Linked DNA regions of Homo sapiens: all the other regions are linked to region 1. The links are contacts of gene promoters, found by promoter capture Hi-C in human tissues and cell types (Jung and others, 2019). All regions are on one chromosome and are shown on one strand. Each heading gives the region's core, a stretch centred on a gene start or on the middle of the fragment in contact. The rest is flanking DNA. Distances are from core to core; before and after follow the strand shown.

Region 1 (4,662 bases), core at 1,440-3,939:
CTTCAGCTTTCTGTGCCTAAAAGAAAACAGACAAATTAATGCAATGCGTAGATTTCAAAACTATCTGTGTTCACATTCCACCTACAGCATCACTTTGCTCCCAGGCCAAAGTTCAGGTTTCAGGTACTGAGACTCAGTATTTCTTCTGAGAATGACTTACTAGGTAACTTTGCTAAGTCACCTCTCCTCTGGGCCTCACTGTAAAATTGAGGTAGGAAGAACACCAGAATAAGAGACCTGAGGTTACTCCTAGCTTGAAAACTTCATGTAGTATAAAACACAATGCCCTTCAGCTGACAGTAGAGATTTCAAGAATCCAGGATTTAAGTTAACAGGAAAGCCACAAGCACACTGGACCAAATGGTACATTTGGAGTGATACAAGAAAAGGGCAATTAAATTTTTGATATCAGCAACTAACTGAATGAACAAATCTAACAAAGGGTGAAACAGCAGTTATACCTGGTCTGTTTTGGCATCTCCATTTTCTGCAGGGTTATTCCCCTCCTTGCCAGCATCAGCTTTTCCCTTTTTCCCTTTGGGTACCTTCTCTCCCTTCTGAAAAAGGGGAAAAAATAGAACTGTTTCTCCCCATTTCGTATTACCAAGGTATGGTCTGCAAAGTTCTGCACAAGGTAGGATTGTTTACTCAAGATAAAACACAAACCCTCACCCATTTGACAAGAACAACTGATCAAAACTAGGCTAAATTATCTGTAATTTGCTATAATCTTTAGTACTTAGAATTTCCTAAGTAACAGAAGAATAAATTAGTTTAAACCCTGGGGTATTTAATATTTAAATGCAGATTTTCCTATAAACTAACAACAGAATTCTTGATCAGGAAACCAACGTTATGAATGACACGGACGAGGTAAGCTATCCACACAGTTTATAACCTCCATTAATGGAGGCACCATTATGCTAATTAAGTTAAGGCACTAAGGACAGTCCTCATTCTGTGAAAATGATCAGTTCCAATGTTAGCACTTACCTTTGCAGGGGCCTTTTTAGGCTTGGGCTCTGGCTTTGGAGGAGCAGGTTTCTTTTTTTGGCAGGAAGAGAGGAAAAAGTGAACATCAGTACAATGGACTGAAGAAAACCACCCACAACCAACCAAAAGTACCAAGGGTAGAGAAGTTTCTCCTCCTCCTCAAAAGTTTTTGTGGTTGGCTTTCTTCTAGAATGTTGGATTTCCAGAAGCCCACTCAAATGTCCCACTTTGGCTACAGGCATCAGAATTTCAGAACCAGCAAAACCCAAAGGGGCAAGAGTCCCAAGTAGAGGCAATGATTCAAAACCAGGCACTAACCATAATTCATGGAAGCAAAGGGAATTGTTTTTTGATGTTTTTTAGTTTCAGGGACAAGCACGAAAATTCAAAAGCATACACTTACAGCAGACAACCTCGCGGATCTTCTCTGTGGCTATTAAAGACAACGAGAAAGTTAGAAATAGGACAGGTAAGTCGCTTTGAAAGTTTGGTATCAATTTGCTCTAGATTATAGGAGTGTAAATTCAGGACACAGGTTACGGTTAATCACCGAGTCCAGTGGCCTCTGCTAGTCCAAGGCTTTGACCCTTGAAGAGAGAATGACTTACTTCGTCCTTCACCTTTGCTTTATCTCCCTTAGCATCCCCTTCAGCCTATAAGAAACAAGAACAAAAAACTGCAGATTTTGAGGTGGTTCTTAATTACTTCCCAAACTTTAGAGTGCTAAAAATGAAAATTAAAGCAGTCGTCCACACAACTTTTCTAGGACATAAATGAGTGAGCCCGACGTTCGTATAAGAACGAAGCGCGCGCAGGAGCTCCGGCTCGCCGACCCCGAGAAGCGAGGGCTGGACCGGAGCGCAGCCGGGGAGGGCAGCGGAGCCCGCACCACCGCGACAGGCAGGAGCAACAGCTGCAGATGGCGCAAACAAACCCCCTCCGGAGGCGGAGCCCAGCGCCGTTGCTATGGCAGCCGTCGAGGGCGGGAGAGGGAGGCGCGCGCAGCCCGGGGAACTCGTGGGCGGCGACAGCGCGCGTCTCGTGCGCGGGGAACGTGGGCGAGGGGGCGGGGCCATACCGCACAAGCCCCGCCCCTCACGGCGGCGGTTTTTTGGCGGCAGCGCTTTCCCCCGCCCGCCAACCCCGAGCGCCGCCTTCCCGCCCTTTCGGGTTTGAATTGCCCGCCCGCAGGGAGGGGAGGGAAGGGGCCCTCGCGATGGGGGAGGGGGCACGGGGCGGGGGCGGCGAGCCCGAGGAGAGCGGGATAAACAGCCGCCAACATGGCTCCTCCCGCCGCGGCCGCCGCTCCTCCAATATGGCCTCTGGCGCCCGCGGGCAGCCGAGCCGCTCAGGGTTAGCCCCGAGCTGCCCGACACCGTCTCCAGCCCCCGCGCGGGGAGGCTGCGCTGGCTCCTGCTCGGCGCCGATTCTCGCTCCCTGCACCAGGGAGGCGGCGGCGGCGGTGGCGGCAGTGGTGGCCCGGCGCCTGGGGCCCTCGCGCCACGTACCTTTCTCTTGGGCATGGTGGCGGCGGCGACGGCAGCGGGACGTAGGTGCTGGACGCGGGATGCAGCGGCGCGCGGGCTTTGGTCGGTCCGGGGGTCGTTCTCGCCTCTTCTTCACACTGCTCGGGCTCCGGGGGGTTTATAAAGTTTTTATAGCGCTGGGAGCCCCGGACCGGTTAGAACCGGATTTCACCTCCCGCCGCCGTTCATTGGCCCAGCTGGGGTCACGTGGGCGGGGTTTAAACTCACCTCCTCTGGAGGGAGTGAGGAGGGGGGTGTGTGGGGGGGGTAGTGCGCGGAGACGGCGGCGCGCCGAGGGGGTGGGGGCGCAGTCGGGGTGGCGCGCGTCGAAGGCAGTAAATGAGGAGGGGTGCGCGAGTCGGCGGGCTCCGGGTTCCGGCTCCCGCCAAGAGCTGTCTTTTGCAAACTAGCAAGTTCCTTCCACCTTATGCAACCCAGCAACCCACTTCTCCAAGCCGTGCGACACTCACGGCGCATCTCAGCGGCTTTCCTTCCTGCTCCCGCTGGGGGCCCCAGAAGAGGGGTTTGCGAGGCCTGGCTGCACTGCCCTGCTCCTCTGGAAGCAGGAGGAAGCGCGCGGCTGGAGGCACAGGCTGCAGTTCCCAGAGCCCAGGCTGACGCCAAAGTGGGAAAAAGGCGGGGAAACCAGCTTGGCGCAGCCGGACGTGCATCCTTCCGAGCTGCCACTTCGGAGAAGCCTTTCGTGCACCTCACCTGAAAGACGGTCCCACTCGAGGTGGGCTAGGGGTTTCAGGGGGAGACTTTCCATGCAGAGGTGCCTTTTGGGTGCCGTGGGTCAGGTAGGAGCTGTCCTTTCAGCACCCGTTGCGCAGCCGCCTCCCCAAATGCTATCGAAGCCCCCACCCCCAACTCCTCTCGGGTGGCTCCCTTAAGGTCCCTGTATTCCCAAACCTCCAGACCCCGCCACAGTATGGTGGAGAGCGGCCGTCGAGGTCTACCAGCACTCACTTCCCCCTACACTCTACCCCTCTCGGAGACATTTTGCCCAGCTGCCCAACCCGACGCGGCCACCAAGCCTGGGCACTGCAGCCGCAGCTGGCGAAATCCCTCCTTCCACACTGTCAAGCTGGCTGCCTTTCACTTGCGCGAGGAAAGGAGGGTGGAGGAAAGCGCCCGGGGATTAGGAAACAAGTAGAGGAACAGGTGGTGTGATGGCAAAAGGGCTCTTCCGGTGCCCCCTAGTCCAAAGCCAGGGTCTTGGAGCTAGCCAAGTGCACCTGAGGGAGGGTAGGCAATTGCAGCAGCAAAAGAAGGTGTTCTTCCGTTGCAGTTAGCAAACAAGTTTTACATCTAAGAATCTTTAAAAATTCTATTTGAGACCCAGCACACAAGAATACGATAGATGTCCTCAAATGGGGGCTTGGCTCACAGGTGGAAGGACACTAAATTGGTCCCATCTGATTTCTTGAGGCAAGGGTTGAACCTGGCTTGCACAAATCACACCTGTCCAAAGCAACCACGAGTTCTACTATTTTGCAGCCCTTGCTGCTGGGCGACGACGACGACCTCTCTGCCTCTTCTTTCCACCACTACATCGCCTCCTGGGGCAGCTTCTCCCTACTCCACCCTGTGTACCTTTCCCAGAATACAGAACCTCAGGCCAAAGAGAGATGCCAGCCCCATTAATCACCTCTACTGTACCCCAATCATATTACGGAAAGTCAGACCCAGGAGACAGGACTCAACAGCCACGCTCATAGGGCAGATTCCGTTTGCTGCCTCCAGCCCCTCATTCCCGCCTTAATTGTAGGGCTCTGCATTATAGCCGCATAATTCATGCCTCCCTAATTATGGCTGTCAACAGCCCCATTGTAAAGCTGTAAAATGTACAGCACCTGCTCTCCAGGAACCCTGTGCCAGGGATTGGTAGAGGGGAGTGCCAGGTGTGGATGGGGGCTTTGCCAAAGGGTTCACTGATTGGCTTCTCAATCGCCGTGTCTGGCATTTATGCTTGATTCTGGGAGCATGGACAATAGCCAAGAAGTCTCTTGCCGCCAGGTATCCCGGGACAGAAAGGGGAAGAGGCGGGTGGGGTATAGGAAAGTTAGGGGTTTCCTGTGTGCTCTTGCTACAACTTGCAAGATTTCACCTCTCCCCTAGAGGGAGCTGCTAGGGAAACAGC
Region 2 (4,662 bases), core at 1,086-3,585, 480 kb after region 1:
AGGATGGATAGTGTTCCCATTGTACAGATGGGGAATCAAGCTTAGAGAGATCAGATAACTTGCATAAGATAAGAAAGCTAGGCAGGGCTGGCACGGTGGCTCACTCCAGTAATCCCAAGCACCTTGGGAGGCTAAGGCAGGATTATCGCTTGAGCCCAAGAGGTTGAGACCAGCCTGGGCAACATGATGAAACTCCATCTCTACAAATAAATACAAAAATTAGCCGGGTGTGATGGCAAGTGCCTATAGTCCCAGCCACCCAGGAGGCTGAGGTGGGAGCATCACTTGAGCTGGGAGGGTGAGGCCACAGTGAGCCACTGCACTCCAGCCTGGGAGACAGAGCAAGACCCTGTCTCAAAAAAAAAAAAAAAAAGCTAGGCACCAAATGAGCTGGGCCTCCAATGTGGTTCTTTCAGACTATCTCTCATGGACATGACCTCATTTCCAGAGTAGATTCCAACTTTTTAGCTTAGCACTTGAGGGACTGCTCCTCCCCAAATCTGGTCACAACTTTCTCTTCTCACCTTGCGTTGTTTCTCACACAAGCTTCCTTCTTACCGTGCCTTTGCTTGCTCTCTCCTGCTTGAAAGAGCCTTTCCCATCTTCCCCTGCTCTCTACTTCCAAGCTAAAGGAGCACTGTTTCTTCTCAGAACTCCTGTGGTCTTTTATCTGCTTTTCTTTTATGACAGTTGAACTTGCAGCTGCTTCATTGTCATGTGAGTGACAGGTGTCTTGTGGCCCCAGCAGTAGGTCTTCCATTTGCAGACCTCAACAACAAGCGATGGGGAAAGGTCAGGGTCTCAGGCTAAGCAGAGCTCATCCCCCTTCACTCTGGCTGAACAACCCACTGACATCAGGAGCTTAGCTTCTTTTTCAAAAGAATTGGGTTTGTTTTTAAATTTGCTAAAAAGAAACAAAATGAAGATGCTATCTGTAGTAGAAAGAAAATAATTTCTTATCTTTCAAAGTTAAATAGAATGATGTTAGGATTGTTGAGACCAGACAAGTGGCAGCTGACAACCAGGAGACTGTGTGTTGTTATCATCGTTCTGCTTGTGACTCTGAGCAGCTCACTTAATCTCTCCGGACCTTGGTGTCTTCCCTGGTAAAGCACGTGTATGTACGCGGAGAAGGGGAAAACGATTGTGGAGGGGATTGACGGAAATGCTCCCTTAGGTCTCTTCTTACCCAGACATGCTTTGACTGGAACTCCTGAATCCCTCCCAGAGCATCTTAAAGGAAGCAGAATAATTTAATCATTAACATGTGGACCCCAGACTCAGTGTGTATCCATTTAGATGCTTTTGGTTACAACCAAAAGAAATCTAACTTCAGTTGGTTTAACCAAGAAAGGGAACTTACTGACTCATGTAACTAGAAAGTCTAGGAGTGGGTCAGGTTTCAGGTATGGTCTAATCTGTGGATTCTTAATGTCTTCACAAATGGGCCTCTATTTCTCTGTGATTCTTCTGGTTTTCCCATCCACCATGGGTATCTTCATCCTCAAGGTGGCAAAAGTGGCTGCTGTGGTTCAAGGCCACTTGACAGGTGACATCTGCACATCACACTAGTCCAACACAGGAAATAACTTTTCTCCCCTCAACCGTCATACCAAAGTCCCGGGTTTTACGCCTATTGGACCAACCTAATGCCATACGCGCACTTTTCATCCAAATACTGACCGGAGAATAAGAAGGACTGATTGGCTCCGGTTAATTAAGGCTCAACTCCGGAGGTTAAGGAGGGGTCAGCCCCACCCAAATCACAAGGCAAGGGACACTGGGAAGTTTGACATTCTCATGTTACAACCACATTGTCCATGATCGAATTCTGGCTCTGCTCGCCATATGTTATTGGGTAAATTGCCTTTGTCAAGCATCTGTTTCCTCATCTGTAAAATGAGATAATAATACGTATCTCAGAGGACTGTTGAAAGAATTAAATAAAATAATATGTGAAAAGCACTAAACATAGTTCCTGGCACAGAGTAAGTATGATGATGATGGTGGTGTTGGAGATGATGAAACTGAAGAGGGTTAGGGGAGCACTGGCACCAGTTTAGGAAGCAGCTGAGCCGTAGGAATGTTATCTAGTCAGGAGTGTGCATGCCTGTCATGCTGAAAGCATCTGTTTGATCTACTGCCCACATCATACTTTTCCCTACCTCTGCTTTTTTTCCTCTTAGGATTTTTTCTATAAGTGCTTTCTTCCTCCTCCCCTGCCTCTCAACTTCCTCATCTTTAAAGGCCCAGCATAAGTGCTACCCCATATTCAGTAGTTTAAAAGCTGGGTGTGGTGGCTCTTACCTGTAATCCCAGCTACTTGGGAGGCCTAGGCAGGTGTATTGTTTGAGCCCAGGAGTTTGAGACCAGCCTGGACAACATAGCAAGACCCTGTCTCTCAAAAAAATCAAACGGTTTTAAGAAAAAGCTTAGTTCAGTAACTTTGCATCTGTATAACTGAATCTCCCCCTGAGCAGGATCAGTAATGGTTAAGAACTTAGCTTCCGGATTAGGCAGAGATGGGTTTGCCACTGGGTAACTTGGGAAGGTTATTCAACCTCTTTATGCCTTAGTTTCCTCATCTGTAAAACAGGGTCTTTTGTTTGTTTGTTTGTTTTTTGAGACAGGGTCTCACTCTGTCACCCAGGCTGGAGTGCAGTGGTGCAATCTCGGCTCACTGCAACCTCTGCCTCCCAGGTTCAAGCGATTCTCTTGCCTCAGCTTCCTGAGTAGCTGGGACTATAGGTGCCTGCCACTGCACCCGGCTAATTTTTGTATTTTTAGTAGAGACGGGGTTTCGCCATGTTGGCCAGGCTGGTCTTGAACTCCTGACCTCAGGTGATCTGCCCGCCTCGACCTCCCAAAGTGCTTGGATTACAGGCGTGAGCCACCGTGCCTGGCCAAAACAAGGTCTTAATAGTACCTACCTCAGGCCAGGCGCGGTGGCTCACGCCTGTAATCCCAGCACTTTGGGAGGCCAAAGTGGGTAGATCACGAGGTCAGGAGATCAAGACCATCCTGGCCAACATGGCGAAACCCCGTCTCTACTAAAAATTAAACAAAAAATTAGCTGGGCATGGTGGCACGTGCCTGTAATCCCAGCTACTCAGGAGGCTGAGGCAGGAGAATCGCTTGAACCAGGGAGTCGGAGGTTGCAGCGAGCAAGATCATGCCACTGCACTCCAGCCTAGCAACAGAGCGAGACTCCGTCTCAAAAAAAAAAGTACCTACCTCAGAGAGTGGTTGAGACAATGAAATGATGCAATGTGTATAGTGTCTATAAAGAGGTCAGTACAGTGCTAACCGTAAATAATGGATCTTAGTGGTTACTATTAGCCTCAGGAGAGCAAGGTCTGTGTGACAGTCTCTGCAGCAGTAGCTGCTGGATAAACATACGTTAATGGGCTGTAAGGAGTATGGATGGCTCTCTTTCGTCTTCCAGCCATCTCCTCACCCTAGCAAAATAAAAAACAACCCCCAACCTTGGCAAAGGCAATGTAGCAAAGTAGTAGGTGCAAGATTTAATGAGCGACGGCAGGGAGGATGAGGTGCTAAGGAGGGGTGGACAGGGTAACAGATAACACATTTCAGCAACAGGAAGCCGAGAGGAAACCAGCAAGCGGCTGCTGTTCTGTGTTCCCCCATCCAGCCAGCAAGTTCAGCTCCGGCAAGTCATTTGATTCACCCGGTGATGAAATGGGGGTCAACCAGTCTGTGGGCTTTCCACCTGTCACAGGACCCCACCTCGTAGGCTGTGGGGATGTGATGGAGGGTCAGAATCTCCAGGTAAGTGTCCCCAGCTCCCTTTCTTCTGTTTGCACTGCTTCTGCCGGCACCGTGACTTACTGATCACAAGTCTGATCCTGTATTCCCACGGTGGGGAAAATGAATTAGAGCGGGTCTGGATTTGGTTATCAAGCCCCCAGGTCTGTCTTCCTGAGCTTTTTCTTCCTCTTTCCAAACATTAGAAACATCCCAATAGACAGAGATAATGCGTTCATTTTCCACCTAGGAGGAAAGGGGGGACTCTAGCTTTAGAGGCAGCTCGCAGATCCTCTCACCTTTCTTGAGGGCAGATGCCTGATCTTGGAAGGGTTTTAATCGTATCATAATCTGAGTGTGTGAGAGAAAGAGCCATGGGCGTGTGCCTTTGGCCTTGGACTCCCTGACCTGGGTAGGGGGACAGCTTCCTTTTCTCTCTCCTGCCTTGATCTGTTTTCCCCTCCTGCTTTGACTTCTGGACTGGTCCTCTATCTTATATATATGTATATATAGTAGAGACGAGGCCTTGCTATGTTGCCCAGGCTGATGTCTAACTCCTGGCCTCAAGCGACTCTCCTACCTCGGCTTCCCAAAGTGCTGGGATTACAGGCATGAGCCACTGTGCCTGGCTTAGTTCCTAGGTCTTTCTCTGCTAGCCCTTGGACTTCCTGTCTCCCTTGAGAGGCACACACTTCCTAGTAACCCCTCACCTACTCCCATGTAAAATGAGTGTGCTGTTGCTTCCCAGGGGCTGTCCTAGAGCAGAGTGGCCTGGATGAGCTACCAAGGCCACCCTGTTCAGCACGAGAACTAATCTCTAACTCCTGGGGCTCCTCTAGGCCTAGGTTCAGGGCCAGATTTAAATCTTTCATTGTCCCAAGCACTCAAATATTTTTG
Region 3 (4,662 bases), core at 2,127-4,626, 390 kb before region 1:
TTTCCTTTTTAGAGATAGGGTCTTACTCTGATGTCCAGGCTGAAGTACAGTGGTATGATCACAGCTCACTGCAGTCTCAACCTCCTTGGCCTCAGGTGATCCTCCTGCCTCAGCTTCCTAAGAATAAGGTGCTCACCACAACGCCCAGCTAATTTTTGTATTTTTTTGTAGAGACAGGGTCTCACCATGTTGCCCAGGCTGGTCTCGAACTTCTGGGTTCAAGCAATCCTCCTGCCTTGGCTTCCCAAAGTGCTGGGATTACAGGTGTGAGTCACTACACCTGGCCCTTTTGATTTTCTTATTCTCTCCAATTTATAAATAGTGAATATAGGTCGGACGCGGTGGCTCACGCCTGTCATCTCAGCACTTTGGGAGGCTGAGGTGGGTGGATCACAAGGTCAGGAGATCGAGACCATTCTGGCTAACCCAGGAAAACCCTGTCTCTACTAAAAATACAAAAAATTAGCCGGGCATGGTGGCACATGCCTGTAGTCCCAGCTACTCGGGAGGCTGAGGCAGGAGAATCGCTTGAACCCGGGAGGCGGAGCTTGCAGTGAGCCGAGATGGCGCCACTGCACTCCAGCCTGGGTGACAGAGCAAGACTCCGTCTCAAAACAAAACAACAACAAAAAAGTGAATATGTATTGTTTGTCTATGAGATACAGAATAGACTAGTATCTTTGGAATCAGACTGCCTAAATGTAATTCTTATAGCTGTTTGTGGCCTTGGCCAAGTGATTTAAGCTCTGTGAGCCTCAGTTCCTGTAACTATAAAATGGGACTTGTGAGGATTACACGAGTTAATGGAAAGCACAGTAGAATGGATGGCAACTATTATTATTATTATTTTCTTTTTTTTGAGACGGAGTTTCGCTCTTGTCACCCAGGCTGGAGTGTAGTGGCACAATCTCAGCTCACTGCAACCTCCACCTCCTGGGTTCAAGTGATTCTCCTGCCTCAGCCTCCCGAGTAGCTGGGATTACAAGGGTGCACCACCACACCCAGCTAATTTTTGTATTTTTTTTTTTTTTAAGTAGAGATGTGGTTTCACCATGTTGGCCAGGCTGGTCTCGAACAGCTGACCTCAAGTGATCCACCTGCCTCAGCCTTCCAAAGTGCTGAAATTATAGGCATAAGCCACCATGCCCGGCCAGATGACAACTATTATTATCATGTGAAAAAATCCCGTCAACTTTATTATGATCAACATATACTCACAAAGCACTAACATAGAGTTAGGTTCTGTGAAATGAGGAAGGACCCCAAGCCAGGACTTAGCCAAAGGCCAGACCTTCCCAGCTGGGTGTCTACAGGGGAGAGGAAGCAGTTTGCCCATAGCCTTCTCTCTCCAGATGGATGAATGGCCAGATGTGCTCAGCACTGCCTCCTTCCTCTCCATCTAGGACAGGCGTGTCCAATCTTTTGGCTTCCCTGGGCCACATTGGAAGAATTGTCTTGGGCCACACATAAAATATACCAACACTACCAATAACTGATGAGCTAAAAAAAAAAAAAAATTTGCAAAAAAATCTCATAATGTTTTAAGAAAGTTTACTAATTTGTGTTGGGCTGCATTCAAAGCCATTCTGGGCCACATGCAGCCTGTGGGCCGTGGGTTGGACAAGCTTGATCTAGGATATTCCTGTGACCTCAGCAGGTCCTGGAACCTCAGGGGCCTTCATTTGTACTAGTCATCCAGCCGGGGCTTCCCCAAGTCCTGGGGAAAGCTGGAGATCCCAGGACACTGGGAACCTGGAAGGCAGGCCCAGGAACTTTGGAGCCTGAGTCCAGGGAGGGACCATTTGCTTCCCGCCACTTAAGCCAGAGGACCTGGTGGTGGTTCACGCCCTCCGCATAGCCATGAGCAAGGGCAAGGAAGCCCCTTCATTCCTACTCCTCCCCTGCTGGAGCTCAGGGGTGCATCTGGGAGCCAGGCTGCCTGATACCTCCTGCCCGCTCTGGCCTGTTGATCCTGACTCAGTTCCTGTCTCAGGTACCTCCCTTTGCCTCTGGGCCTCCATTTCCCAAGTTCAGGAGCTCAGACGGGCAGGAGGCAGCAGGCCCTGGCAGGGCATGGAGCTCCACAGTCAGCTGTCTGAGTCAGCAGGACAGGAGCTGGGGTTGCAGCTCAAAGGGGCTTTCCTCATTCTGCCTGCTACCTCCCCACCCTCCTGTACAGCATCCATTCTACCAGCAGGCTCAGGGGCTCTGGCCCCATAGTCAACCAATCCTTCTTAGCTGGTAATAATAGGCTTTGAAGGGTTGTGATGAAGAAAGCAGCAACCATTTGCTCTCTACCTCCACTGAGGACAGAGGACAGGGCTCTGATAGCAGTGGGAGGGACACCAGGTAGATTCTAGAAAGAACTTCCTAAGAAATGTTTCTGTCTTGGAATGATCAAATTAAACAGGTGGCCAGAGGAAGCTCTAGCACCTTTTCCCACTGGCTAGTTGTGAACAAGAGTCCAGTTACCTAGCCAAGAGCTTACTTTACTGGTTACCTTTGGGAAGGGATATTAAATTATTTTAATTATTTTTGTGGCTCCTTGTGGAGCAGGGCGACCCCATAGGCAGTGTGCCCAGAGTAGCTTACATTACTTTTAAGTGATTCGTAGTTCTGATTCTTTTTCTCTTGAAGGCACTGCTGTTTAGAGTATCCCACATCTAAACCAGTCCAGTCTAGAGACAGTGCAGAATTTATGGAGAGAGAATGGAATGAGGTCAGAGTGTGGGACTGCATCCCAGCTCTGTTATAAGGCCTTGGGCAGGTCCCTTCCTGCCTCTGGGCTTCAATTTCTCCATCAGTAAAACAAGGAGGCTGGCCCAGATCAACTCTAAGCCCTCTACTGGCTATGACATTCTCTAATTTTAGGGTTTCTCCAAGATCTCATCCTCCCACCGCTGTATTCATTCCTTGGGTAGTGCAGATGGCTCAGAGCTCGGGGCAGAGATCAGGTTCCGATCTGGGATTTGCTGCTTTGCCAGCTGGGTGACCTTGGGCAGCTCCTGTTTCTTCCTTGAGTCTCAGTTCCCTCATCTGTAAAAAGGCTGACATCATCCTCCTCACAGGTTAAGATGAGAAAATGGGCCCGGGACTCGGCAAGCCCTTGCTGAACGGTAGCGGTAGCTATTTTTTTAGCCCATAGTACAGTGTATGCACATGTGTGTATCTTGATGTAGTGCAGCAACTGGGGAGAGAGAAGTTTCCATGAGATCGTTACCCTGGGCTGGGCTCAGTTCATGGGTATGGCAGTCCCAAACTGGAGTTAAACCCTCTGTCTCAGCCTGCACTGGGACCTATCAGAATCCAGAGGTCAGCTAAGGCTGGGTGGTGTCTGGAATTGAGACCAAGAGTTCTGGAGGGGCAGAGTGAAAAGGATGTCAGCCACTTTTCCTGTGTCCCTCCTGGCTTCGTTGTGCTTGTAAATCTCCAGAGCAGCACTGGCCAGCTGGAAGAAAGCTGGGAGCGAGGGGGAGCCATATGTTCCACACGCCCACTGCAGGTCCCATCCCTGGGCCCCAAAGTAAAGGCGCCACCAGACAGCCAATGGTATGGCAAGAAGAGGGGAATCTTTATTTTGGTTAAAAAAAAAAAAGGTACAGGATAGCAGACAAGCAGCCCCCAGCCCTGGGCTCAGCTGATTTTCCTTGGCTCAGCTCTTTCCTTTAGTCCCCTGAAGTGTATGGGGCTGTGCACGGCTAGCTTGGTCCCTCAGTGCCTAGAGCAAAGGAGGCACGCACCCTCCCTACATCCTACCTACTCTGGTGGAGGGTTGGGGGTGGGAGGTGGACAGGCCGTGGGAACAGTATCAAGCCAGTTGTGCTTAGAACAGTCACCAAACTTGTTCAGCAGCGTCATCCACCATCAACACCCCAGACAGCTCCTGAGGAAACCTGCTGGGCTTGACTATGGCTATGCCTGATCTGAGGGGGTGGAGGGGCAGGCTCTAAGGCCAGATTCCTAGTCTTGACACCTCACAAATCCGGGAAGGGGAAGTCAGTGGAGGAGAGAGGGAGCATATCAGCGTAGAGTCACATTATTGTGCTGATGGCTGCGTTATGGCTTTCTACACTCTGGCCGGCATGGAGCGGGAATGGGGCAAAGAGGCCAGCCCCTGCCCCCTATGGGGGTCCTAGAGAGCACACAGGCCGGGCAGGCTGGGGGGCAGACCCTGTAGGCACAGATGGTGGCAGATGGGCCACAGGTTAGGCAGGTGGAGGTGCCGGGTGCCTGGCTCCCCCCAGGCCATTCCTGGAGAGGCAGAGAGCAGCGGTCCTCAGGAGGTCCTTAAGCCCCCGCACACACTGGAGATCCCCGGCAGGACAGCAAAGAAGGAGAAGAGAGAGGGTTAGCAGGCCTGGGAGGAGGGAGGCGGCCTGCAGGGGCCCCGGTGGTGGGGAGAGGTGCTGCCACAGCACCTGCCTCTGCCCGAGAGAAGGGCCAAGGCTTAGGCAGCAGGCAATGAAGCAGGAGAGAAAACGGGCGGGTGAGAGAAAGCTCAGCGGGGACAGAAAGCCAGGACATAAGAGTGTTAGTGACCGGTGGCCCCTGCATACCAGGACCCCACCAGCACAGACCCAAGCACCTCAGGGCAGGTTCGCCATCCTCTCCCCAGCCTCACCCTCCACCTCCTCTTCCAGCTGGAGAGCTGCTCTGCGAGAA
Region 4 (4,662 bases), core at 1,598-4,097, 340 kb after region 1:
ACTGATGCAGGATAGGCATGCCCCAGAATTGGAGTTTAGCCCAGGAGGGTTGTTGGCTTCACCTAGGAAAGAATTCAATGGGAGCCAATGGCGGTAAACAGCAAGTTTTATTGAAGTAGCAGTGTACAGCAGCAGCAGAAGTACTGCTCCTTGTAGGGCAGGGCAGTGCCCAGAATAGCAGCTCAGAATATGTTCTTCACTCATATTTTTAGCCCACTTTTAATTATATGCAAATTAAGGGGTGGTTTATGCAGAAATTTCTAGGATAAGCATGGTAACTTCTGAGTCGTCAGGTCATTGCCATGGAAAGGGGTGGTAACTTCCAGGTGTTGCTATGACAACGGTAAACTGACATGGCACACTGGTGGGCGTGTCTTATGGAAAGCTGCTTCCATACAGGGACCTGTGTTAACTAGTCCTCAATTTGGTCTGATGTCCAAGCCCTGCCTCTGGAGTCGAGTTCTCCTACCTCACCACCACACCCAGCTATAATTTTTTAAATTTTTTATTTTGTAGAGATTGGGTCGCACTACATTGCCCAGGCTGCCCAGTGATTCTCAACCTAGGCCTCCCAAAGTGCTGGGATTATTGGTGTGAGCCACTGTGCCTGACCTCTCCATCACTTTTGAAGGACAACTTCACAGGGTACAGGATTCTAGGTTAGTGGGTTTTTTTCTCTCAACACTACACATTTTCCTACACTTGCTTCTTGCTTGCATGGTTTCTGAGAAGTTGAGTGTAATTCTTATCTTTACTCCTCTATAGGTAAGGTGCTTTTTTCTGTCTGACTTCTCTTAAGATTTTTTATTTTTGATTTCCTGAAATTTGAATATGTCTAGGTATAGTTTGAATATGTCTAGGTGTCATTTTGTGGGTTTTTTGGCATTTATCCTGCTTGGTGTTCTCTGAGTTTCCTGGATCTGTGGTTTGGTGTCTGACATTAATTTGGGGAAATTTGACTGGGCATGATGGCTCATACCTGTAATCCTAGCACTTTGGGAGGCCAAGGCAGGCAAATTGCTTGAGCTCAGGAGTTCAAGACTAGCCTGGACAACATGGCGAAACCCCATCTCTACAAAAAAATACAAAAATTAGCAGATGCCTGTAGTCCCAGCTACTAGGGAGGCTGAGGCAGGAGGATGGCTTGAGCCCAGGAGGCAGAGGTTGCAGTGAACCGAGATCGCACCATTGCACTCCAGTCTGGGTGACAGAACCAGACCCTGTCTCAAAAACAAAAAAACAAAAAAACAAAAAAATTGGGGGAGATTCTCAGTCATTATTACCTCAACTATTGCTTCTGTTCCTTTCTCTCCTTTTTCTCCCTGTCATAGTCCCATTACATGTAGGTTATACCTTTTATAGTTGGCCGACAATTATTTGATATTCCGTTCTTTAAAAAAATTTTTTTAGACGTTTTCTCTTTGCTTTTCAGTTTTGGAAGTTTGTTTTGTCATATGTTCAAGCTCAGAAATTCTTTCCTCAGCCATGTCCGGTCTGCTAATGAGCCCATCAAAAGCATTCTTCATCTCTATTACAGAGTTTTTGATTTCTAGCATCTTTTTGACCCTTAGAATTTCCATTTCTCTGCTTACATTATCCATCTGTGTGTGCATATTGTCTACTTTTTCCATTGAAGTCCTTAGCATATTAATCACAATTTAAAAAAAAATCCCTGGCCTGATAGTTCCAGGATTCTTGCCATAACTGACTCAGATTCTGATGATTGTTCAGACTTTTCAAATTGTATTTTTTGCTTTTTAGTATCCCTTGTACTTTTTTGTGAAAGGTGGATGGAATGTACTGGCTAAAGGAACTGCCATAAATAGGCCTTTAGTAATGTAGTAACATTTGGGGATGGTGGGTGTTCTATAATCCTATGATTTGGTCATGGGCTTTTCATAGGTGAGCCTGTGCCCTTGGACTGTGAACTTCACCAGTGCTTCTCTTGGTGAAGTTCCCTTAGGTGGTCAGGATGGCTAGAGGGGGCTGGAATACCCTCAGATAGGTTAGGGTCAGCTGATAAAACCACAACAGATGAGGCTGTGGTAAAATAGTTGCTCCTGAGGGTTGTCCTTGTTAAGAACAGAATGTTCAGGCAGGTTTCAAAATGGTTCCTTTCCCCCTCCCGTTAGCAGAAGAATGAGCACCTGTGAGGATCTGGCAGAGCTCCTGGAGGTAATAGTGTGGGGAGCCTCCTGTGATTGGGTCCCCCTGGGCTTTTTAACTCTCAGAGTTGACCATACTAAGCAATTCATCAATTACAGTTTAGGTTTTCCTACCCCTGCACCTTTTCCACACTAGTAAATTGTGATATTCTGTATCTACCAATGCATCTCTCCAATTACAGGGGCAGCAGTTTGCCCTGTGACCTCACTGCTCTGACATATCTAAGAAGAGTGGTTGATTTTTCCATGTGTTCAGCTTTTTAATTGTTGTTAGGATGGAGTGGTGACTTTTAGGCTCCTTTTGTGCCAAACCAGAAATTAGAAGTCCTAATTTTTTTTTTTTTTTTTTGAGTTGGGGTTTTGCTTTGTCTCCAGGCTGGAGTGCAGTGGTGCGATCTCGGCTCACTGCAGCCTCCAACTCCTGGGCTCAAGTGCTCCTCCCGCCTCAGCCTCCTGAATAGCTGGGACTACAGGCATGTGCCACCACACCAGAACCCCCAGCTAATTCCTTTTTTTTTTTTTCCCGGTAAAGATGAGGTCTCATTATGTTGCCCAGGCTGGTCTTGAACTTCTGGACTTAAGCAATCCTCTTGCCTTGGCCTTCCGAAGTGCTAGGATCACAGGCATGAGCCACTGTACCTGGCCCATTTCTAATATTTTTAATTGGCTGGCAGACATTTTGAATTTTATATTGTTGAGAAGTGGAATTTTTGGACTCAAGTATTTTTGAGCTTTGTTCTAGCACATTATGTTACTTAGAAAAAAATGTATTTTGTTAAATAAAATGTATAGGAGACCATTATTTTGGACTAGCCTCGTACACTAGCACTAGCAGACCGAGCCAAATCAGAATGGAGTCACTCATGCTGGGTGCCACATAATTAAACTGAACTCTGAAACAGGCCAGTCCACCCCCCACCCCGCTACCAAAAAAATACCCCCAGGAGATTCGCAGCAACCAATCAAAAGGGGCCCAGTTTACCTGAGCTGGCATGAAAATGAAGTTCCCTCTGTTTTTGTTGTTGTTGTTGTTTTTAATTTTTAAATTTTAATCTTTTTATTTATTTAGAGACTGGTTCATTTTTGCTAAATTGCTTGTCTTTCCGAGTTTCATAGCAGAGTTTTTGGTCTGTTTAAATTCATTATAAATAGACATTTAGGATGTCAGCTTCTGACCTCATGGACTGTGAGCTTACAAGTCCCCTGGTCTGTCACAGGCCATGCATATGAGGAATAAAAAATCAAAACATTTAAGTAATTTTGTTATAAAGAAATATAGTTATGCACCCCAAACACAGAAAACATTTCATTAAAAATTGGTCTTAGTCCTGCTGGGCGTGCCAGTGATTCTTTTAGGTTTGGACCTTGACTGAGAGAATTTCCAGTCGCTCTCTCCTCTCTGGGCAGAAGTTCCAGATCCTCTCTGGGCAGAAGTTCCAGATGATCTGATGGGCAGGGACTTAGGCTGTGTCCCCTGGGGGCTCTGGTCCACTAGTTGTTGGGACCGCCTGGGAGGGCGCAGCAACCCACTACGCCTGTGTCTGTTTTAACTCTATAAGGAAAGTAACTTTGAAACAACCAGACAATTTTCTGTTCTCTGTTTCTGCTTTTCTCAGGCCTTTTCTGTCTATAAAACCATACTTTTCTGCTTGGCTTATCGGAATACTCACTGTATTTTATAGAATAAGGTGTTGCCTTTTTCTAGAATCACAAAGAAAAGCCAATATAGATCTTTAAATCAAATTTGCTATAATTTTGTCTGTGTACCTTTCAAGACTTACTTTTAAGCTTGGATAGACAGGTCCAGAATAGCTGTTAGCCTTGGCCTCACTACTGAGACAATACTCTTCTGTGATGCTCTGTATATTGGAAGAAGGTCTTTCTGTTCTGGCTGGTGGAAATATCAATTATTCTTGGTCCTGTGTGAGCTCCAGGATTGTTCTGCCTAATCCTTTCAGGGGATCTTTCCTGCATTCAGGTCTGATAGTTTCTTCATAAGCATGACTGATTAGTACTTAGCTGATACTGTGTGTGTGAATGTGAGTGTGTGAGTGTGTGTGTGTGTGTGAGAGAGAGAGAGAGAGAGAGTGTGTGTGTGAGTGTGTATGTTTTCTTTAAGGCAGGTCTTGCTCTGCCGCCCAGGGTGGAGTGCAGCGTGGTGATTCCAGCTCACTGCAGCCTTGACTTTCCTGGGTTCAGGTGATTCTCCCAACTCAGCCTCCAAGTAGCTGGGACTATAGGCAAACACCATCACACCTGGATAATTTTATTTTATTTTTTGTAGAGACAGGGTTTCACCATGTTGCCTAGGCTGGTCTCCAACTCTTGGGCTCAAGTGATCATTCTGGCTTGGCCTCTTAAAGTACTGGGATTACAGATGTGAGTTACCTGGCCCTGCCTCAGCTGATGTCTTGAAAAAAACTTTCTGCAAAGGTCTGGAACTCTCACCGACAAATAAAAAACAGGACAAAAAAGAAAAGAAAAAAAATAAACAACA
Region 5 (4,662 bases), core at 1,496-3,995, 330 kb after region 1:
TTATAAAACAGAAAAGCCTCCATGTCATGGCCAGAGGCCTGACTTGAATTGTCATGAAGGAGCATCTCAGCCTCTCAGCTGATTTCCAGATCTCAGCCAGTCCACAGACCTGAAGCTCTGATTGAACAGGAGGCCAGGTCCCTTAAAGAAGGACCTCACAGCACTGCCACATGTACGTACTGTAAAACTTCCCCCAAGGAAGAAGGAAGGGGCAATTCAGACCATTTAGGAAGTACTAGATGTTGGCCTTAAAGTAATGCTAGTATCTGGAAACCCAAGATTCCCATGTCCAAAACTACGGAAAAACCTCGCTCTTTCACAAACCTGTTCTGCCACTGACTTCCTCATCTCATTCAAACCTTCCCTAACTCAGCACCTGTCCAATTGCTCAGGCCAGGGCTAACCTTTTGGCTAACCTTTGACCTGTCTCTCTCTCTTTCATTCCACATCTGATACATCAGCATCTGTAGGCTGTATCTTTGAAATCCATCCAGATTTAGAGCACTCTCTCCTGCTCCACTCCTTCTGCCCTGGTCCATGCCACCGTCCCCTCTTGCCTGGGACTGTAGTCGTCTCTATTATTTTATTTTTATTTGTTGAGATGGAGTCTCACTCTGTCACCTGGGCTGGAGTGCAGTGGTTCAATTTTGGCTCACTGCGACCTCCGCCTCCCAGTTCAAGTGATTCTCATGCCTCAGCCTCCTGAGTAGCTGGAACTACAGGCACCCACCACCACACCCAGCTAATATTTGTATTTTTAGTAGATGTGAGGTTTCATCGTGTTGGCCAGGCTGGTCTCGAACTTCTGACCTCAAGTGATCCACCTGCTTTGGGCCTCCCAAAGTGCTGGGATTACAGGCGTGAGCCACCGCACCCAGCTGTGGTAGTCTCTAGTAAGTCTCTCTCTTTCTAACCTCATCCTGCATAGAGTCTATTCTCAATGCCACTCTAGATCAATTCTTTAAAAATATATCAGTCATGTCACTTCTCTGCTCAAAACTCTGAAAAAGGTTCCCCATTTCACTCGAGATAAAGACAAATCCTTAGCAGCCTGCAGGCTTCCCGTGGCCACGCCCTGTGAGCTCCCTGCCCTCCCCGCCTGCCATCCTCCCTGTCCAGATGCACATGTCTTCCTTGTCTGTTCCTCTAACACAACAACCACGCTCCACCTGGGGGCCTGTGGACTCTGCTAGGAATGCTTTTCCTTCAGTTACGTGCTTTGCTGACTCCTTCCCCTCCTTTAAGACTTGTTTTTTTAAGAGAGTCTCGCTCTGTAGCCAGGCTGGAGTGCAGTGGCGCAATCTCGGCTCACTGCAACCTCCACCTCCCGGGTTCAAGTGATTCTCCTGCCTCAGCCTCCCAAGTAGCTGGGATTACAGGTGTGCACCACCACACCCAGCTAATTTTTGTATTTACCCAATGCCATGTTTACATGGTCTTTGTTCAGGCTGGCACGGTGGCTCATGCCTATAATCCCAGCACTCTGGGGGGCCGAGGTGGGAGGATCACTTGAGCCCAGGACCTTGAGAGCAGACTGGACAATGTAGCAAGACCCCATCTCTGTTTTAAGAAAATGAAGAAAAAAAGAAAACAAAAAGATAAAGGTCTTTGCTCAGCCGATGCTTTGGAGTGAGGATTGCCCATCAGTGTCCCACTTTGGGTCAAAAGGCCAGAACTTGGTACTCTCATCTCCCTCAATCACCAGAGGTGGTCTGCCCTGGGAAGAGCATGACCTTGGGGAAGGCGGATCTCAGCAGCTGAGGCAGACCCTGAGGGAGGTGATGGCCATAGGCAGTCAGCTGCCTACTCTCCCTGCAGATGGGCAGCAGGCCCTTCCTTGGATGAGTAAAAAGAAGTACAGGAGAAGAAAAAAGGAGAAGAAGAAAGATGTACAGGAAGAAAAAAGGAGTACAGGAACCAAGGGGTGGAAGGAAGAGTGACCCCACTTACTGTTACTCCAGTGGCCCAGAGGGAGACTTTGTACTTGCCAGCCCTGCAACTCTGGGCTCTGCAGGGTTAGAGGTCCTGGTCCTACAAGGGGGCACATTTTTCCCAAAAAGATATGTATTGAAGGGCTGAGCATGGTGGCTCATGCCTGTAATCCCAGCACTTTGGGAGGCCGAGGTGGGAGGATCACTTGAGGCCAGGAGTTCAAGACCAACCTGGCCAAGATAGTAAGACCCCCATCCCCCTACCCTCAAAAAAAAAGAAAGAAAAAGAAAAACAGATCTGCATTAAATTATAACCAGTGTCTACCTCCTGGGTGCTCTGAGCTGCTTGTGTCCAGGACTAGCCATCAAGAACAGGGGTCGCTGGGTACAGTGGCTCATGCCTGTAATCCCAGCATTTTGGGAGGGTGAGGTGGATGGATCACCTGAGTTCAGGAGTTCGAGACTAGCCTGGCCAACATGGTGAAACCTTGTCTCTACTAAAAATACAAAAATTAGTCGGGTGTGGTGGCGCGCGCCTGTGGTCCCAGCTACATGGGGGCTGAGGCATGAGAATCCAGGAGGCAGAGGTTGCAGTCAGCCGAGATCACACCACTACGCTCCAGCTTGGGCAACAGAGGGAGACTCCGTCTTAAAAAAAAAAAAAAAAAAAAGAAGCAGGGTCTTGGCACCCCTGTCTTGGCATTGGCACAGGTGTTTCACCCTGATTATAAATAGGAATAAGGCTGCTCTTATACAGTGGGGGCAAGAAGGATCCCTGTGGATCCAGGGTGATCTGCTCAGGTGCTTCTTGGTGTTCCTTTGTTCCACTATAACTGCAAATGGACAGGTCATGCAACTCTGGCCTGAGAAGGGCGTGATGACCAGGGGCTCAGGCTTCTTGGGGATGAAGGTCTGGATCCCACCACCACGTGAGCCACTGAGGCCAGCAGAAGTGGCAGCTGAGGGTGAGGGGAGTCTAGAACCAATGGAGGAGGAGGGAGATGAGGGCCATCACCTGCAGCCCCAGGACGGACTGCCGTGGTGGGGGCTGTAGTTCGTCCCACTGGCGTTCCTCCACTAAGTTCCCTCTTGGGAAGAGGGCCAGAGGAATTCTGAAGGGGCTGCGCCTTCAGTGTGTATGGGCGGGTTCTTGTAGACAGCAGCTTTCAATGGTGTCCACTGCTGCCCACTAGTAGGGGGTGCAGTTAGCAGATGGCCTGCCGCTGTCACCTCCTTCAGGGTCTGCCTCAGTGGCTGAGAGCCCACTCAGCCAAGCTCCCACCCTTCCTAGGGCAGCCTGTATCTGGTGATTGAAGGAGGTGGGGTGTAAAGGTCAGGCCATTCCAGTTTAATGCAGGACACGCAGATGGACAATAGTCACTCCAGACCTTCGAGCCTGGTCGGTTGAGCTAGAGAGGCCACGCTTGCCATTCCTAGTGATCTAAAAAGGATAGGTCACTGGGAGATGGGAGTCCAAGCCTTGGCTAGTGGTGCACTGTGGGGACCTATGGTAAATTGCTTACCGTTTAAAGACTGCCCCTAACGGAAGGACTCTGAGTTTAGGTGAGCTTGGCACCATGAGGCACAGGTCACAATAATTTTGTTTCCAAAATTATCCCACCCTACCCCAGAAGATCTGCAGAAAGCAAGACCATGGGATTGGGGAGATGTGAGACTCAGATTGAGGAACGGTTTCCCCAAGGACCTCTGGAAAGCTCGTCTGATTGAGTTTGAACAAGGGTTATCCACCAGAGGGCGGGCTTCACCCTCCAAGAAGCTTTCCTGATACCACTTCGCCCACGGGCTCTTCCTGAGCTTCACTAGCATAGGGGGCCGCCCCGCTGCCTGGTCTTGCTGCGCACACCTGGACATCCTCAGAGCTGCTGTTTCACCTGGGGACTGCTCAGATGGTTGCTTACCTTGACACTGCTGCTTGTAATACCAGTTAACTGATAAGAGCAGCGATTTCTGCGTTTATATTGTTCTCTGTAGTGTATGAAACATCTTCACATACATTATTCTCATTTGGTTTGCAAAGCAACTTGAAAAAATAATTTATTATTATGGCCACTTTTCAGAAGAGGTAACTAAGGCTCATAGAAGTCAAATGGCTTCACCAGTCACAGAGTATGTTCCTGCTGCTGCTATCACTGACATTTATTAAGCACTTGCTATGTGCCAAGGATGATGTTAAGGGTTCACTTATTTAATTCTACAGTAATAAAGACAGTGAAGTGTTGACAGGCAGTGTTAATTAAATGTGTGCCAGTTTAGAAATATTATCTCTTTCTCTGATGAATGGAACTTTTATCATTAGGTAGAAACTATCTCTAGTGATGCTTTTAGCTTCAATATAGCTATTTCATCCTCATTTTTTTTTGCCAAGTATTTCTTTTTCTAAACTTTGCCAATCTATGTCCTGATATTTTAGATTTGTCTTTGTAAACAGAACATATTAATAGTGGATTTTATTCTTTTATTTAGTCTGACATCCTTTATCTTTGGAGAATTTAGCCCACTTGTAGATATTGCTATATTTTTATTTATTTCACTCATTTGTAATGTACATTCTATTTGCTGTACTTTCCCTTTCTCTTAAAAAAAAAACTACTTTTTTTTTAAGATGGTGTCTCACTCTTGTTGCCCAAGCTGGAGTGTAGTGGCGTGATTTCGGCTCACTGCAACCTCTGACTCTTGGGTTCAAGCGATTCTCCTGCCTCAGCCTCCCAAG
Region 6 (4,662 bases), core at 844-3,343, 280 kb before region 1:
GTACTAAGGAACGGGAAGAAAAGATGCAGAGGTTGACACTACCCTTTTAGTGTAGGACCAAGCCCTATCACCTACATGGACTACCTCCATGGTTTGGAACAGCAGAAACTACTCCAGGAAAGGTTTAGAAAAATGTGTTTCCTACTTGCCCCCGTCAAGTTTCCAAAAACTTGGTTTGTATCTTAGAAACCATTGCATAGGATGAAATCCCCCACCAAACTCCCTCTTCTCTTTTTCTACATAGGCTATTGTTCTGAAGATAATGATTCATTCTTCCTGATACCTTTTGGCCACCTGACGGGGAAGACACAGGAGAGAAGGGTTAAGACTCTTCTTGTCTCCAGAATGCTTTTCAGGGGCCCGTCTCCAAGAGGAAACTCCCTATATACACATCAGAATTCATAAAGAAAGCTCTGGAGACCAAATCTCCAAATACAAAGGATGTTAGATAAAGTTAATAAAGTTCCTTTATATATTCCTTTTGAAAGGAAGCAGAATTGACATGAATATGTGACTATCACATATTCAACCCTAAGGTGAGTGGTTGACTCTCATTTAATTTTCACAATCATCTTCTGATATAGGTATTACCCCCATTTTAACAAAGAAGCAGGTTCAGAAGTGACTTGCCCAAGGACAGACAGCTATTAAATAGACCTGAGGTTCAAATCCATTATTACTTTACACTCTTTCCATAAGGTATTAATAGAAGCTTGACATGATCAAAGGCTGGGTTCCATGCTCCAATAGAGGTAAGGCCAACAACCTATATCACCAGACATGCTGCGTGATTAGCTACTTGACTCAACTGGCTAACCTCACGAGGCTCACTTAACTCCTTTATTGAAGGAAAGACTTACACTAGATAATCAAACTCTACAAATCTGTGATGCTATGTGTTCCCCTGTCCTTTTTTTTTTAGACGGAGTTTTGCCCTGTCCTCCAGGCTGGAGTGCAGTGGTGCAATCTCAGCTCACTGCAATCTCCGCCTCCCAGGTTCTAGTGATTCTCCTGCCTCAGCCTCCCGAGTAGCTGGGATTACAGACCCTCGCCACCACGCCCGGCTAATTTTTGTATTTTTAGTAGAGACGGGGTTTCACCATGTTGATCAGGTTGGTCTCGAACTCCTGACCTCAAGTGATCCACCCGCCTCGGCCTCCCAAAGTGCTGGGATTACAGGTGTGAGCCACCATGCCCGGCCCCCCTCTTTCCTAATTACTCTTGCTATAACTTTCAGCCTTTATTTCAAATCAGCCCTTTCACTGATAACCTTCAACTTCAACCTAATTTTTCTATGCTAAATTAAAGGGTACAGTACTTTTTCTCACCCCTGGGTTTTCTGTAGGGTACTTAATGTGTAAGAGGACAGAGGGCTGTGGGGAGGGTGACTTTGAATGTAGGGAAACAAGCAGAAGTCCCATGAAGGTAGAAGTCCCATGAAGGTAGGAGCCTGGTCTCTGCTGGGTATTCAAACTGAATATGTTCTAAGCCTTTTATCAATCACAAGGGTGTGGCTCACAGAGAAAAAAAAAATCAAGATATTCCTGGCCTCTAGATGGCCTCCTCTTAGGCCACTTCAAACCCTCACACTTTCCTCCTCACCCAGCACTGCAGCCACCCTTCCAAACTGCAGGATGTTTGGGTTTTGTTTAGGGACCCCACTCTCCAAGCTACAAGACGGGAAGGCTCCTTTCTAGAGGCTTTAAAAGCCAAGCAAGCTTCAACCCTCTGGCCACAGAGGTGCTCCAACAATAGGGCAACTGAGCTCTCCTTTCACACACATCAGGCTGGCTGGTTTCCCAACCACCAGAGTAGAATTGGCATTATAGGTACAACAACTAAAGGCTAAAATTGTTTTTTAGCCTTGGGAACTTCCAAGATGAAAACAGTTTTGTGGAGGCAGTGAGGAATCAGAAGCCTCCATGCTCCAAGCAGAGATCTGCTAGCCATTCTATTAAACCATCTATTTTGACCCAAGTCACAGGACTAGTTCCCTACTCTCACCCTATAGGCAGGGCACAGAGTTCCTCTGAGGCTCCTCTAGAAGCAGTGTTACAGGACTGATGGCACTGTGTTCTATCCGCCCTTTTTCTCCACTAGCCTGTGGGACCAGAGCAAGATCAGGCTATTAGTGACCAGAAAGATGCCAGACACACAAACGACAAGATGCTTGATAAATGTTGCTCAATGAATTATCTACTCAAAAGCATCCTCTTTAGACACAACCTCTATTAGTCCTCTTTCTTTCCCTTAATCTCTATTCCCCCATCCTATACCCCAGTACCTGAATTCTAGACCTCCACAAGGGAGGGGCTCTTGGGTGCTGGTATCAAGAGAATTGATTCTCCTGTTTAAAACTCAGAAGTACAACCCCGAATGGGTTTTGGCAACTTGGTAAGAGCTGTTGCTAGAACTGCAGCAGTGCAGAAAAGGAATGTCTGGAAAGGAGGCTGCCAGAGGCAGGGCTCTGTGTCACTGGAGAAATTTCAATCTAATTGTGAAAATACGAGAACGTGCTGTTCTAACCCACCTCTGCAAAATCTCTTGAGGCAGGTCTGACCCTCTGGGTGGAGGCTGAGGGCACTGCTGAGGTAAAAAGGTGGGGAGAAGAAAGACTGCTGGGCTGCTTGCATTCCTGTGGTGGTAGCCCCTGCAAACAGCGGCTGGGTCACTGCAGCAGCCATTGATTTTCCAGGGGTCGATATTCTACTCCTACAGATCTGCTCAGCCGGAGGTTTAATCACATCGAGTGCTTCTGCTCAACATTTCCCCTGTCGCTCCCCGCCGCCCCCCAACAAACAAATAAAACAAACACCAAACACAATGAGAACTGGCAAAGGATAGATGAGAAGGTGCTCCTCACAGCTGTCCCCTACCCCCGGAGAAATTCTAGGCACCAGCTCAAAGGGAGTAAATCCAAGAGAGAGCCAAAGCTACACGGGGCAGTCCACAAGACACTGCAGGGACAGACCCACAGACCCCAGAGAATTATTATTATTATTATTTTTTGAGACGGAGTCTCGCTCTGTCACCGAGGCTGGAGTGCAGTGGCGCGATCTTGGCTCACTGCAAGCTCTGCCTCCCGGGTTCACACCATTCTCCTGCCTCAGCCTCCCGAGTAGCTGGGACTACAGGTGCCCGCCACCATGCCCAGCTAATTTTTTGTATTTTTTAGTAGAGATGAGGTTTCACCGTGTTAGCCAGGATGGTCTCCATCTCCTGACCTCGTGATCTGCCTGCCTCGGCCTCCCAAAGTGCTGGGATTACAGGCGTGAGCCACTGCGCCTGGCCGAGAGTTTTCCAAAAATAAAAATAAAAAAAAAGATGATGATGATGATTCTGGAACTCCCATAGGCCGCTAACTGGTTGAAACCCTGCTTTTCAGTTTGTCACAGTCCCCATCAGGCCTGTATAATACCATGTTACCTGCCCGACCAGTCACCCTGCCCCCCAAAGGCTTCTGTCTTATCCAGTCAGTAACCACTTTTTGGCCAAAAATGTATGAAGTGTTTTGAGGGTCACTAGTTAATAGACTCAAATCTGACAAAAAAAAAAAAAAAAAAAAGAATCTGGGTCAGAGCTGGGCCTGAGTTACAGCAGCCAAGAGCAGTGCATATTTATGGAATAGGGCTGTTCTAATCCCAGCAGGAAGTAAGAGCACTGTAAAGCTAGAGAAGGCAAAGAAGTTAGGAACCCCCTACTTTCTCAAAGCCAAGCATTCCCTGTTAGGAAGGTCAACCAAACAGAGTTTGTTCTATTATGAAGATCATCAGCTATAATCTTAGAACTTGAGTAAAGAGGGCAGGAAAGGGGAGTGAGAGGAAAGGAACACAGAAAGCAAGCAGAGTTCTGGGTATGAGAAGTGTAATAAGGAGGGGGTGTTGCCTTAGGCTTCCACATCATCTGGCTCTCCTCTCTACAGCAAGCCTGGTTGCCCCTCAGAATTACAGCAACCAGAAAGCAAGCAAGGACAGCCAGGGAAGGCAAAGTTGGCACTGTGCTGAACATGGCTTAGAACTAGGGGCTGGATGGCCTCCTTGGTTTTGTAAACTCTTAAATTTATACTTGTCAGTGGTCTTCCCTACCTTAGCCTACTGGTCTATATAAAATCCAAATATTTAGGGGGAGAGGGTGGAACAAACAGATCTGAGAGTGAGAAATGGATAGAATCTTAAACCAGAATACAACCTCAAAGGACTTTGAAAAGAACAACTCTGAACACAAGGGAGCTATAATCAAGTTCTAGAAAATAAGAGGGATAAAAATCCAAATATTCTTGATAATGGTTCCTCTGAACATTGACCTATATTATTTGTTTGTTTTTCAGATAGGGTCTTGCTCTGTCACCCAGGCTGGAGTGCAGTCGTGCAAGCATAGCTCAATGCAGCCTCAAACTCCTGGGCTCAAGCGATCCTCCTGCCTCAGCCTCCCAAGTAGCCAGGACTACAGGCATGCACCACCATGGCCAACTATTTTTTTTTTTTTTTTTGGTAGAGATGGGGATCTTGCTGTGTTGCCCAGGGTGGTGGTCTCCAGCTCCTGGCCTCAAGCAATCCTACTGCCTCAGCCTCCCACACTGCTGGGATTACAGGTGTAAGCCACCACACCTGGCCACTGATCCCTTTCAGTCTAAATTTGGTTTCTCTTACCTTCCCCAAAATG

Evidence for each region. Contacts are between HindIII fragments. The study calls those that stand out against the background at their distance.
Region 2: a contact is called between a fragment that was not itself captured here and the fragment with the promoter of HMGN2 in region 1, in 3 of the 25 tissues and cell types used here (adrenal gland, hippocampus and spleen).
Region 3: a contact is called between a fragment that was not itself captured here and the fragment with the promoter of HMGN2 in region 1, in 1 of the 25 tissues and cell types used here (neural progenitor cells).
Region 4: a fragment that was not itself captured here is called in contact with the fragment with the promoter of HMGN2 in region 1 in 2 of the 25 tissues and cell types used here (IMR-90 fibroblasts and lymphoblastoid cells).
Region 5: a contact is called between a fragment that was not itself captured here and the fragment with the promoter of HMGN2 in region 1, in 1 of the 25 tissues and cell types used here (hippocampus).
Region 6: a fragment that was not itself captured here is called in contact with the fragment with the promoter of HMGN2 in region 1 in 1 of the 25 tissues and cell types used here (dorsolateral prefrontal cortex).

Annotation. Positions count from the first base shown.
Region 1 is chr1:26,470,467-26,475,128 of GRCh38, reverse strand. It overlaps HMGN2 (high mobility group nucleosomal binding domain 2), which reads right to left and starts at 2,689. Exons shown (of 6, transcript NM_005517.4): 1 at 2,502-2,689; 2 at 1,602-1,646; 3 at 1,397-1,426; 4 at 994-1,044; 5 at 462-557; 6 at 1-16. The coding sequence starts at 2,516. It overlaps DHDDS (dehydrodolichyl diphosphate synthase subunit), which reads right to left. Exons shown (of 9, transcript NM_205861.3): 9 at 3,823-4,662. RefSeq lists silencers at 1,965-2,134, 2,175-2,464, 2,725-2,994, 2,879-3,294 and enhancers at 2,664-3,373, 3,374-4,082. The HindIII fragment of the contact is 14,054 bases long and covers 1-4,662 here.
Region 2 is chr1:25,989,854-25,994,515 of GRCh38, reverse strand. PAFAH2 (platelet activating factor acetylhydrolase 2) reads left to right here. Exons shown (of 11, transcript NM_000437.4): 2 at 3,653-3,789. The coding sequence starts at 3,700. Among named protein-coding and RNA genes, the nearest start is that of PAFAH2, 5.9 kb to the left of the region's middle. RefSeq lists an enhancer at 434-945. The HindIII fragment of the contact is 7,134 bases long and covers 1-4,662 here.
Region 3 is chr1:26,856,490-26,861,151 of GRCh38, reverse strand. It overlaps ZDHHC18 (zDHHC palmitoyltransferase 18), which reads right to left. Exons shown (of 8, transcript NM_032283.3): 8 at 3,548-4,662. Among named protein-coding and RNA genes, the nearest start is that of SFN, 4.3 kb to the left of the region's middle. The HindIII fragment of the contact is 5,523 bases long and covers 615-4,662 here.
Region 4 is chr1:26,128,358-26,133,019 of GRCh38, reverse strand. No RefSeq gene overlaps it. Among named protein-coding and RNA genes, the nearest start is that of PDIK1L, 19 kb to the right of the region's middle. RefSeq lists a silencer at 4,068-4,362. The HindIII fragment of the contact is 7,689 bases long and covers 1-4,662 here.
Region 5 is chr1:26,144,317-26,148,978 of GRCh38, reverse strand. No RefSeq gene overlaps it. Among named protein-coding and RNA genes, the nearest start is that of FAM110D, 12 kb to the left of the region's middle. The HindIII fragment of the contact is 8,228 bases long and covers 1-4,662 here.
Region 6 is chr1:26,747,512-26,752,173 of GRCh38, reverse strand. All of the region lies in intron 4 of ARID1A (AT-rich interaction domain 1A), which reads right to left. Among named protein-coding and RNA genes, the nearest start is that of PIGV, 38 kb to the left of the region's middle. The HindIII fragment of the contact is 4,216 bases long and covers 1-4,201 here.